2 separate regions of the Homo sapiens genome follow, and region 1 is linked to region 2. The links are contacts of gene promoters, found by promoter capture Hi-C in blood cells and fetal thymus (Javierre and others, 2016). All regions are on one chromosome and are shown on one strand. The core of a region is centred on a gene start or on the middle of the fragment in contact, and the rest is flanking DNA. Distances in the headings are between cores, read along the strand shown.

Region 1 (4,129 bases), core at 1,414-3,913, 240 kb before region 2:
GCCACACAACAAGGCAGTGACAGTGGCTGCGTTTGAACCCAGGTGTCCTAACCTCCAGGACCCACACATGGCAATCTGAGGAACTGCTCGGGGAGCAGAGTGCTTAATGACAGGGCTTCAGGGACACTATTTGTCAGAGGGGCTTTCAAGGTAACTCCTGTGGTGGTGTTGGGAGGGGGTGCTCAGCCGATGCCTAGTCTCTCTGTAGCCTTGGTGGGGAGGCCACTGTGACCCAGGTCAGCTTGCCTGGAACAGCTGGGTTTCTGGAAACACTTCTCTCTTCTCTATGGGGCCCTGTCGTGGGTGGTGGTGGTAGACGGGGTTTGTTTGTGTGTGTGTATGTGTGGTTTAGTAGTCCCTGCAGCCTTCAGCCTGGAAAGCTGAGGAGGCATGGAGAGGCAGGGGGTTGGTGGATGAGTGACGGGAGGGAAATGCAGTGGGGGAGGAGATGCCACCGCAGGGCTACGGTCAGAGTTGGTGAAGGGCAGATTCACCGTGCCTCCCTCTGTCCTCCTTAAGACCTCTGGTCATGCCAGGGTCTTATGGAGGGGGCTTGGTGCTCCGCACTGTATTTGTTGCTCTCTCTGGAGTTGCTGTACCAACTCTCCTGGCATCCCGACAGGCAGGAGTATGTCCCATAGCCACAGAAATGCCCTTTTTGCAGGTTCTTCCTAGTTCTTGGAGGGCTAGAAGGAACTGAGGGGATGTGAAGAGCATCTTTCCTCCTAGCTTGTTCCCCACTGCCCAGGCTTGCTCCCCGACAGTGAATGGGAAGTGGGGAGCAGTCACCTTCCCAGGGGGCTCCAGAAAGCTGAGGACAGAGTAGCTAAGCTCACAGAGGAGCACTTAGTCAATGGGACTGACCCAGGAGGGCCCCGGGACAATGGGGCTAGGCAGAAAGGAGCAAGAAAGAAGGAGGCAAGGAGGGATGGAGACATCTGAGGAAAGACAGAGAAGGAAGGGAAAAGGAAATGCTCTGTTCACCCATAACTGTCCATGATCTGGACACTTGGGGTTGGAATTCCACCCCAGAGCTGGGGCTTGCCTTGTCTACCATGTTTTCAACAGTGTCTAGGTCCCATGAGTCCACCGCCTCAGGCCTGGCCTCTGGAATTGAAGGCCTGGTGAGGTACCTGCTATGTTGGGTGTGGGCTACACTTATGCATGAAGATTAGTGGGGAGTCCTGGCCTGGCCTTTCCAAGAGAGGAGGAGGTAGGGAGGCGTGCAGACCAGGGACCCAGACAGGCCTCATTCTCAGCAGGGAGCTGCACATTCCAGCCTAGAGTCAAGAGCGGACTGGGGCAGGGCAGACATTCACCTGGTGTACCCCAGCACGCCTCCTGATTGATTGGTAAATAGCTGTTGTTCCAGTCCTTGAGTTCCCCCTGTGCCTCTCTGGCCACCCCAGTCCCTTACTTGGTCCCCTGGACCTCTCCACCATCCAGAAATTGAGGTTTATGTCTGGCTTGGCATACGCCGTCAGCTCTATGTGAACTGTGCCTGAGCCATAGCAGGTGTTAAATGTTTTGGCCATCATCCTGAGCTCCGCAGGGGCCTTGTGCCCCACAGCTGGAGCTGACTGCGACCAGGTCCTGGAACTTGGAGAAGCTGGCAGCAGGCACAGCAGCTCTGAGCATGCCCTGCCTCACTTCTCCTGATGCTTCCAGCTGTGTTCTGGAAGGAGATGGGTCTGGATAAGCAGGCTGGCATGCAGGGAGATGTAGGCGGGACCATCTCTCCAGGAGACCCCAGTAGGGAATGGTTTAGCTGTGGCCTCTGCAGGGCACTGCCTGGAGTAAGGGAGTGCTGAGCCCCTCTAGGGAAGGAGGAGCAAACAACAGATCCCTGGGTCAGCTGCTGACACACTCCTATGCACGCGGCATCTAGTTCTAGCACCTCCTCTCTGGCACTGCCTGGCTCCCCACCCAGCCAGTCAGCTCTTAGAGGCAGAAGCCCAGTGTATCCCAAAGGTGCCTGGCTCAGTGCTGGGCCCCGATTAAATGATGAAGTGGCCTGGGGAGGTAGAAAGAGCCCCAGGCTGTGAGTTGAGTGATCTGGGTTGAGGTCTTGACTCTATGCAGCGCTCCGGCTTTGGACAACTCTGGGCTTCCTTCTGCTCCTCTGGCCAGTAAGCTTCTTTAGCAGTGGAAACTTTTCCTCAAATGAAATTCCAAGTGAGGGGCCAATAAATGAAGCAGATAAAACTGCATGTACTGTGTTTGCCCACTCCCACACCTTCCTGCTACCTGTCCCATCTCTGAGGACCCTCAAGACTCCTAGGAGCACAGTCTGATGTTCTCCTGACATGGATATCCTCTGACTAATTGCCTGCTTCCCTGAATATCTCGAGGCTATTGGGCCAGGCTGATCCTGGAAGCTGAGGGGAGGCCTCCCCACTCCTCATGCCCTGTACTTCTGGGTCTGGGAAAGCAGGGAGTATGGTGGGACTTTGAATCCAAAGTCCCTGTACTTTCCACTGCCCTACCTAGATGTCCCTGTACCTCCTGTAAAATCAGCATAGAGCCTGGTGCCTGGTAGTCCCTACAAATATTCACAAATTGGAGCTTAGCTCAGCTCTCAGGGGGCCAATCAGGGGGCCAATCATTAACTGGCTTTATCTTTGTGAACCATCCTGGGGGGCCCAGGTCATCGCCCCAGCTTCCAGCCCAGGCCCAGGGGGCTGCTGGGGGAAGGGGCCCTTCTTGCTGGGAGGTAGGGGGCGCCTTGGGTCCCTGCCTCTTTTTTTTCCTGGGACTTCCCCGAAGGAACTCACATTGCAGTCAACTCAGTGACAACCTAGTTACATAGTTGCTTCAAATAAAGACTAAAGCAGGATCCAAGCCAACAGATCCCCCAACCCCTAGTCATCTTTGGCACGCATTATGTAATTTCTTGCTTTTCTTTTTTTTTAACCAGGGGTGGGGTAAACCCATTTCCCTATTTGTTTCTGTTTTACTTTAGCCAGATGATAGTGGGTTTGCATTCTCTAAGAGTTTGCTCACGAATGGGGGTGGGAACAGGAGACAGGGAAGGGAAAAACATTTATATGATACCTACTCTGGGCAAGGAGCTTAGCTGATGTTTGCTGTTTCCATATATTTCCCTACAACCCTGGGAGGTAAGAACCATGAACCTCATTTTACAGATGAGGAAACTGAGGCTCAGACAAGATAAGTGAATTGTCCAAGTCTCAAAGCTTGGAAGTGTTGAACCAAGATCAAACCCAGCCTGTCTGGCTTTTTCCATTACTCGCTATGGGGGTGGTGGGGTGGAGAAAGGGGAGTGGGTGGGTGGCTGAGGCTTTTCACAGTGAGGGTTCATCAAGCTGGTGTCTTTCCTGAAAGGACAGAGGTCTGGCATCTCAGGTAACAGAGGAAGCGGTTCCCTACCTGCTGGGATTTGAGGGGTTCATAAGAACTGCTTCTCCCTTCCATCACTTGGTGCTGAGCCCCAGATTTCACCACTAGTGCTAGATTTCTTTGAGTTAAGCACTGCCCTCTCCAAGAGGCTTTTAAAACACACAGGCCCTGGAAGATGTGACATTTGGTATCAGTCATCTCATCTGGAGTGTTTGAGGGAGATGTTACAGGCTCACAGAGCCTCAGAGCTTAGGGAGTGGAACCTCATGCTTTACCCAGGAGAAGCCTGAGGTCCAGCAAGGGGAGCTGACTCGGCCAAGGTCACACAGCATGCAACAGACTCTGGAAATTTTTTTTTTTTTTTAGACGGAGTCTCGCTTTGTCGCCCAGGCTGGAGTGCAGTGGTGCCATCTTGGCTTACTTGCCTCCTGGGTTTAAGTGATTCTCCTGCCTCAGCCTCCCAAGTAGTTGGTACTATAGGCATGCACAACCACGCCTGGCTAACTTTTGTATTTTTAGTAGAGACAGGGTTTCACCATGTTGGCCAGGCTGATCTTGAACTCCTGACCTCAGGTGATCTGCCCATCTCGGCCTCCCAAAGTGCTGAGATTACAGACGTGAGCCACCACACCCAGCCAGACTCAGGACTTTTTTGCCCAGTGCTGTTTCGAAGTCGCCACATGCCTGTGACAGGTAGACAGGAGGGCTCTGGGTACCAGGTAATGAAGTGAGGGATTAAAGCTGGAGGAAATGTATCTTTCTGCTTTAT
Region 2 (4,368 bases), core at 926-3,425:
TCCCATCCACCACCCAAGGGCTGAGGAGTGCGGGCGCACAGCGCCGGACTGGCAGGCAGCTCCACCTGCAGCCCTGGTGCAGGATCCACTGGGTGTAGCCAGCTGGGCTCCTGAGTCTGGTGGGGACGTGGAGAACCTTTATGTCTAGCTCAGGGATTGTAAATACACCAATTGGCACTCTGTATCTAGCTCAAGGTTTGTAAACACACCAATCAGCACTGTGAATGCACCAATCGACACTGTATCTAGCTACTCTGGTGGGGACTTGGAGAACCTTTGTGTCAACACTCTGTATCTAGCTAATCTAGTGGGGACATGGTGAACCTTTGTGTCTAGCTCGGATTGTAAACGCACCAATCAGCACCCTGTCAAAACAGACCACTGGGCTCTACCAATCAGCAGGATGTGGGTGGGGCCAGATAAGAGAATAAAAGCAGGCTGCCCCAGCCCGCAGTGGCAACCCGCTGGGATCCCTTTCCACGCTGTGGAAGCTTTGTTCTTTTGCTCTTTGCAATAAATCTTGCTACTGCTCACTCTGTAGGTCCACGCTGCCTTTATGAGCTGTAACACTCACCGCGAAGGTCTGCAGCTTCACTCCTGAAGCCAGCGAGACTACGAGCCCACCGGGAGGAACAGACAACTCCAGACGCGCCGCCCTAAGAACTGTAACACTCACCGCGAAGGTCTGCAGCTTCACCCCTAAGCCAGCGAGACCACGAACCCACCAGAAGGAAGAAACTCTGAACACATCTGAACATCAGAAGGAACAAACTCTGGACACGCTGTCTTTAAGAACTGTAACACTCACCGCGAGGGTCCGCGGCTTCATTCTTGAAGTCAGTGAGACCAAGAACCCACCAATTCCGGACACAGGAGGATCGCTTGAGCCCAGGAATTCAAGACCAGCCTGGGCAACCCAGCAACACTCCATCTCTACAGAAGTTGTAAAATTAGCTGGGCGTGATGGGGCGCATCTGTAGTCCTAGCTACTTATCCTAGCCTTGGCGAGAGGATCACTTGAGCCCAGGAGGTTAAGGCTGCAGTGAGCCATGATTGCACCACTGCACTCCAGCCGGGGTAACAAAGTCAGACCGTGTCTCTAAAAATAAATAAATAAATAAAAATAAAATAAATTTGACAACCAAGTTTAAATGGTGTTCTCATTATTCCCATTTTACAGATGCAGTCACTGGGGCCCCCAAGAAGTTAAGTGATCTGCCTAAGATCACATGCCTTTGTTTATATGTGTTGGAATTTTTCAATTCTCTCTGGAAATCCACATCCTCCACCCCCAACCCAGACTCCAACACAACTGCTTCCACCACGGCCCACCTGCGTACCCCACACATATCCCTGAAGTGCAGACTTCCTCCCATCCTTCCCCAGGAAGATTCCCTGGTCTGTGGGGTAGCGAGTGTTGGGGTGGTCTCTCCTTCCCTCCCATGCTTCTAGATTCCTCTGTAGGGTCCCGGTTTTGTTTTTGGTGTGGCAGCAAGCTCACTGCCTTTTTGAGTACTGTATGTCAGTGAGTTTGCATGCACACACCTGGAGGAGGGATGTGTGGGCATGAGAGGTATCTGGGCAAGTGGGCTTACTTGCCCACCTGGGGCACATGTGGGTACAGTGCAGTGGAGCATACATTGCCTAGATTGTAACCGTGTGTGTGCCTAGACACAGGCAAATGAGCCCATGTGGGTGTTCATGAAGGGCCTGCCCCCTGCATGTTTGGGGGTCTGTAGAATGAGTCCCCATTTCTCTCCCCTTCCCAAATAACTGCCACCATCTTCAGTTCAGACTCCTGGGCCCCAGGTAAGGGGCTGGTGAAAACCGCCTGTGACTGGGGACAGAGACACCTGAGTCTTAAGCCCCACCCAGGCTGCTAGTGCCCTTGAGCAGGCATCACCCCACCCAGGCAGCGGGAGTGTCCTCACCCAATGGGATAGGGTGACATGGGGGAGGAGGTTTGAAGCGGGGAGAAGGCAGCGAGGCTTTCAGCTCCCTAGATGGGAGGCTCATTACCCTAGCACTCAGTAGGTTGTAGGGAAGGGGGACTGAGCCAGGACTTGGCACTGACTACAAAGGGTAGGGGCAGCCCCCAGCACTCCCGCCGCGGCAGGCCAGGGGAGGGGCTGTGACGTTTGGTGGCCTCATGCAGCTGAGAGGAAGTAGCTAATTGCCAACCTGATGACTGGCGGCTGAGGAGTGGGGTGATGATGCCACTGGCAGAAGCAGGCGCCCTGGCCCAAGGAGGAGGCCCTTCAGCAACGGAGTGGGCCTGCATTCTGCGGAGGGTGAGACTGAGGTGGCTGCAGTCAAAGGAGAAGGGGGCAGGGGTTTGTTGAGGCTGTGACCGTGGGAAAGCGCTTCTCCAGGGCTTCCCTCAGCTTCAAGGAGAAAGAGTTCAGAGGCCCTGAGGGGATGAAGGGACTTGTGAAGGGGCTTCAGGGGGATGGGTTGGGGGGAAGGAGGTTCCTATTCTTACTCCCCTTCTGCCTATGCTCCCCCAATGTTCCTGTCTCTCCCCTCCCCCACCTTGGCCCCCTCTTTGGCCCCTGTGGCCAAAGTTGTTGAGGAAGGAGGGAGTAGATGGAGGGCTCTTTTCACCAGAAGACCCCCAGGCACAAGCAGCCCACCTTACTGATGGTCAGAGCATCCAGAAGAAGTGGCAAGACTTCAGCTGTCCTCAAAGCAGGAAGACAGAGTGTTTCTGGCAGAAAGAACAGCACAAGCAAAGGTTAGGCAGTGGGGTCTGGAGAGGCTGGTGGAGGACTGGGGCTTGGCTTCAATGGTTATGAGAGGAGGTGGGCAGGATGTTCTGTACCAAGGGCCACACTGTCCCTTCCTGGAAGAAACAGTGGGTACCCAGCACCCAGAGCTTCTCCCACATGCTGGCCACCGCCTCTGGCCCCAGTAGACCTGGCCCTCAACTGCCTCAGCAAGCCTCACAGGTTGGGGACCCCACCCTCATTATTCTCAAGTGCATCAACCCCGAAGGACTGAAGCCCCGAGTCCCAATAAACAGGTCCCATCCATCCGTAGGCCAGTCCGCTGGGCCCCTAGCACCCCCTATGGGCAGGAAGCAACACTAATGGAGGAGGAGCCTCCAGCAGCCTGGGGTGGGGTGGGGGTGGGAGAGTGAGACGTGAGGGAGGAGAGAGACTTGCCCTCTAGGAAGCGGACAGACCATGCCTCAGGAAACCCCAGTGTCACAGGTCACAGACACTGACCTTGAAGCGTTACTCTCATGGGTGAAATTTAGCCCCTGTCCTCAGGAAGCTCCCAGTCTGACGGGGGACACATATAGTGCTCTCAGAGCTGCCTTCTTTAGGGTGAAACTCAGTATCTGGGCTTCAGGAAACTCCCAGTGTAAGGGGAGAGACACGACCCTGCCCTTAGGGATCTCTCAAATGAGGCATACCCACTGGACTTTCGGGAACCATCAATCTGTTTCCAGACATGGATTAGAGATTTCAATGCCTCAAGGGCTGCCAGGAAAAAAAATACAAGACGTCCAATTAAATTGAATATCAGATAAACAACGAATAATATTTTAGCATAAGTCTGTCCCATACAATATTTGGGACAGACTTACACTATTTAAAGTATCCAGTTTAACTGGAAGTCTTGTGTTTTTATTTGCCAGATCTGGTAACCCTAGGTGCCTCCAGTTTGAGGGAGGAGAGAGGACACCCCCTCCACCCCAGACATAGGAAAGCAGGTAAACACCTCAGCGTGCTCCGGAGGGCAGGGGTGGGGCAGGAGGAGAGTCCTGGGGCTCCGGCTCGCGGCAGTTTAAAATTCCTTCCAGGCCAGAGCCCTAATCCCTCGGTGCACAATGGCCGCCTTCTCCCCCGCCGCCCGCGCCCACGCCCTCCCCCGCGGGGCCGTGGCAGTGCCACCAAGGGCCTCTTTAAGCCCCTTTGAAGCCGCGGAGCCCCGCGCCGCAGGAGGCCCCGCCGCTATGCCAGCTATGCCAGCTATGTCCCTGCTGCCGCCGGCCGCCACCGCTCCCCCATTAATGCTGGCTAATCTGGCTAATAAATAAACTCCCCTCCCAGCCCCAGCCCCGCGCCGACTCCTCCCCGCCCCCGCAGAATCGATGTCAGGGCTCGACTAGAGCAAGCGCCCGCACTCCACCCCACTCCCTCGAGATGTAGCTGACGTTTTTTCTTATGGCTGCCCTAGGTCTGTAGCCCGTCGGGGATTCTCGGGGAGACGTGGGATTTGGGAGGTCTCCGCCTAGCCACTGCGTTTGCCTTCCTCTTTTCCAGTCCACCTGCGCACCAGGGGCAGGACACGTGGCTGGGTGCAGACGCTGGCCCGGATGTCGCGGAGGACTCGCGGGCCGGTAGAGCGCGCGGCGGCGGC

What was found. The method cuts DNA at HindIII sites, captures the fragments that hold promoters and counts their contacts. A CHiCAGO score of 5 or more calls a contact.
Region 1: a fragment that was not itself captured here is called in contact with the fragment with the promoter of LINC03040 in region 2 in 6 of 17 cell types (monocytes, erythroblasts, endothelial precursors and 3 more); the score reaches 12.2 in monocytes.

The regions. Positions count from the first base shown.
Region 1 is chr6:43,760,653-43,764,781 of GRCh38, forward strand. No RefSeq gene overlaps it. Among named protein-coding and RNA genes, the nearest start is that of VEGFA, 7.5 kb to the right of the region's middle. RefSeq lists enhancers at 1-133, 134-634, 4,120-4,129. The HindIII fragment of the contact is 1,063 bases long and covers 2,133-3,195 here.
Region 2 is chr6:43,998,410-44,002,777 of GRCh38, forward strand. It overlaps LINC03040 (long intergenic non-protein coding RNA 3040), which reads left to right and starts at 2,176. Exons shown (of 3, transcript NR_160956.1): 1 at 2,176-2,291; 2 at 3,644-3,718; 3 at 4,272-4,368. It overlaps SCIRT (stem cell inhibitory RNA transcript), which reads right to left. Exons shown (of 5, transcript NR_125864.1): 2 at 2,634-2,707; 3 at 2,182-2,306; 4 at 809-1,099. It overlaps LOC124901321 (a long non-coding RNA gene), which reads left to right. Exons shown (of 2, transcript XR_007059591.1): 2 at 542-1,145. RefSeq lists an enhancer at 2,283-2,432 and a silencer at 4,355-4,368. The HindIII fragment of the contact is 11,725 bases long and covers 490-4,368 here.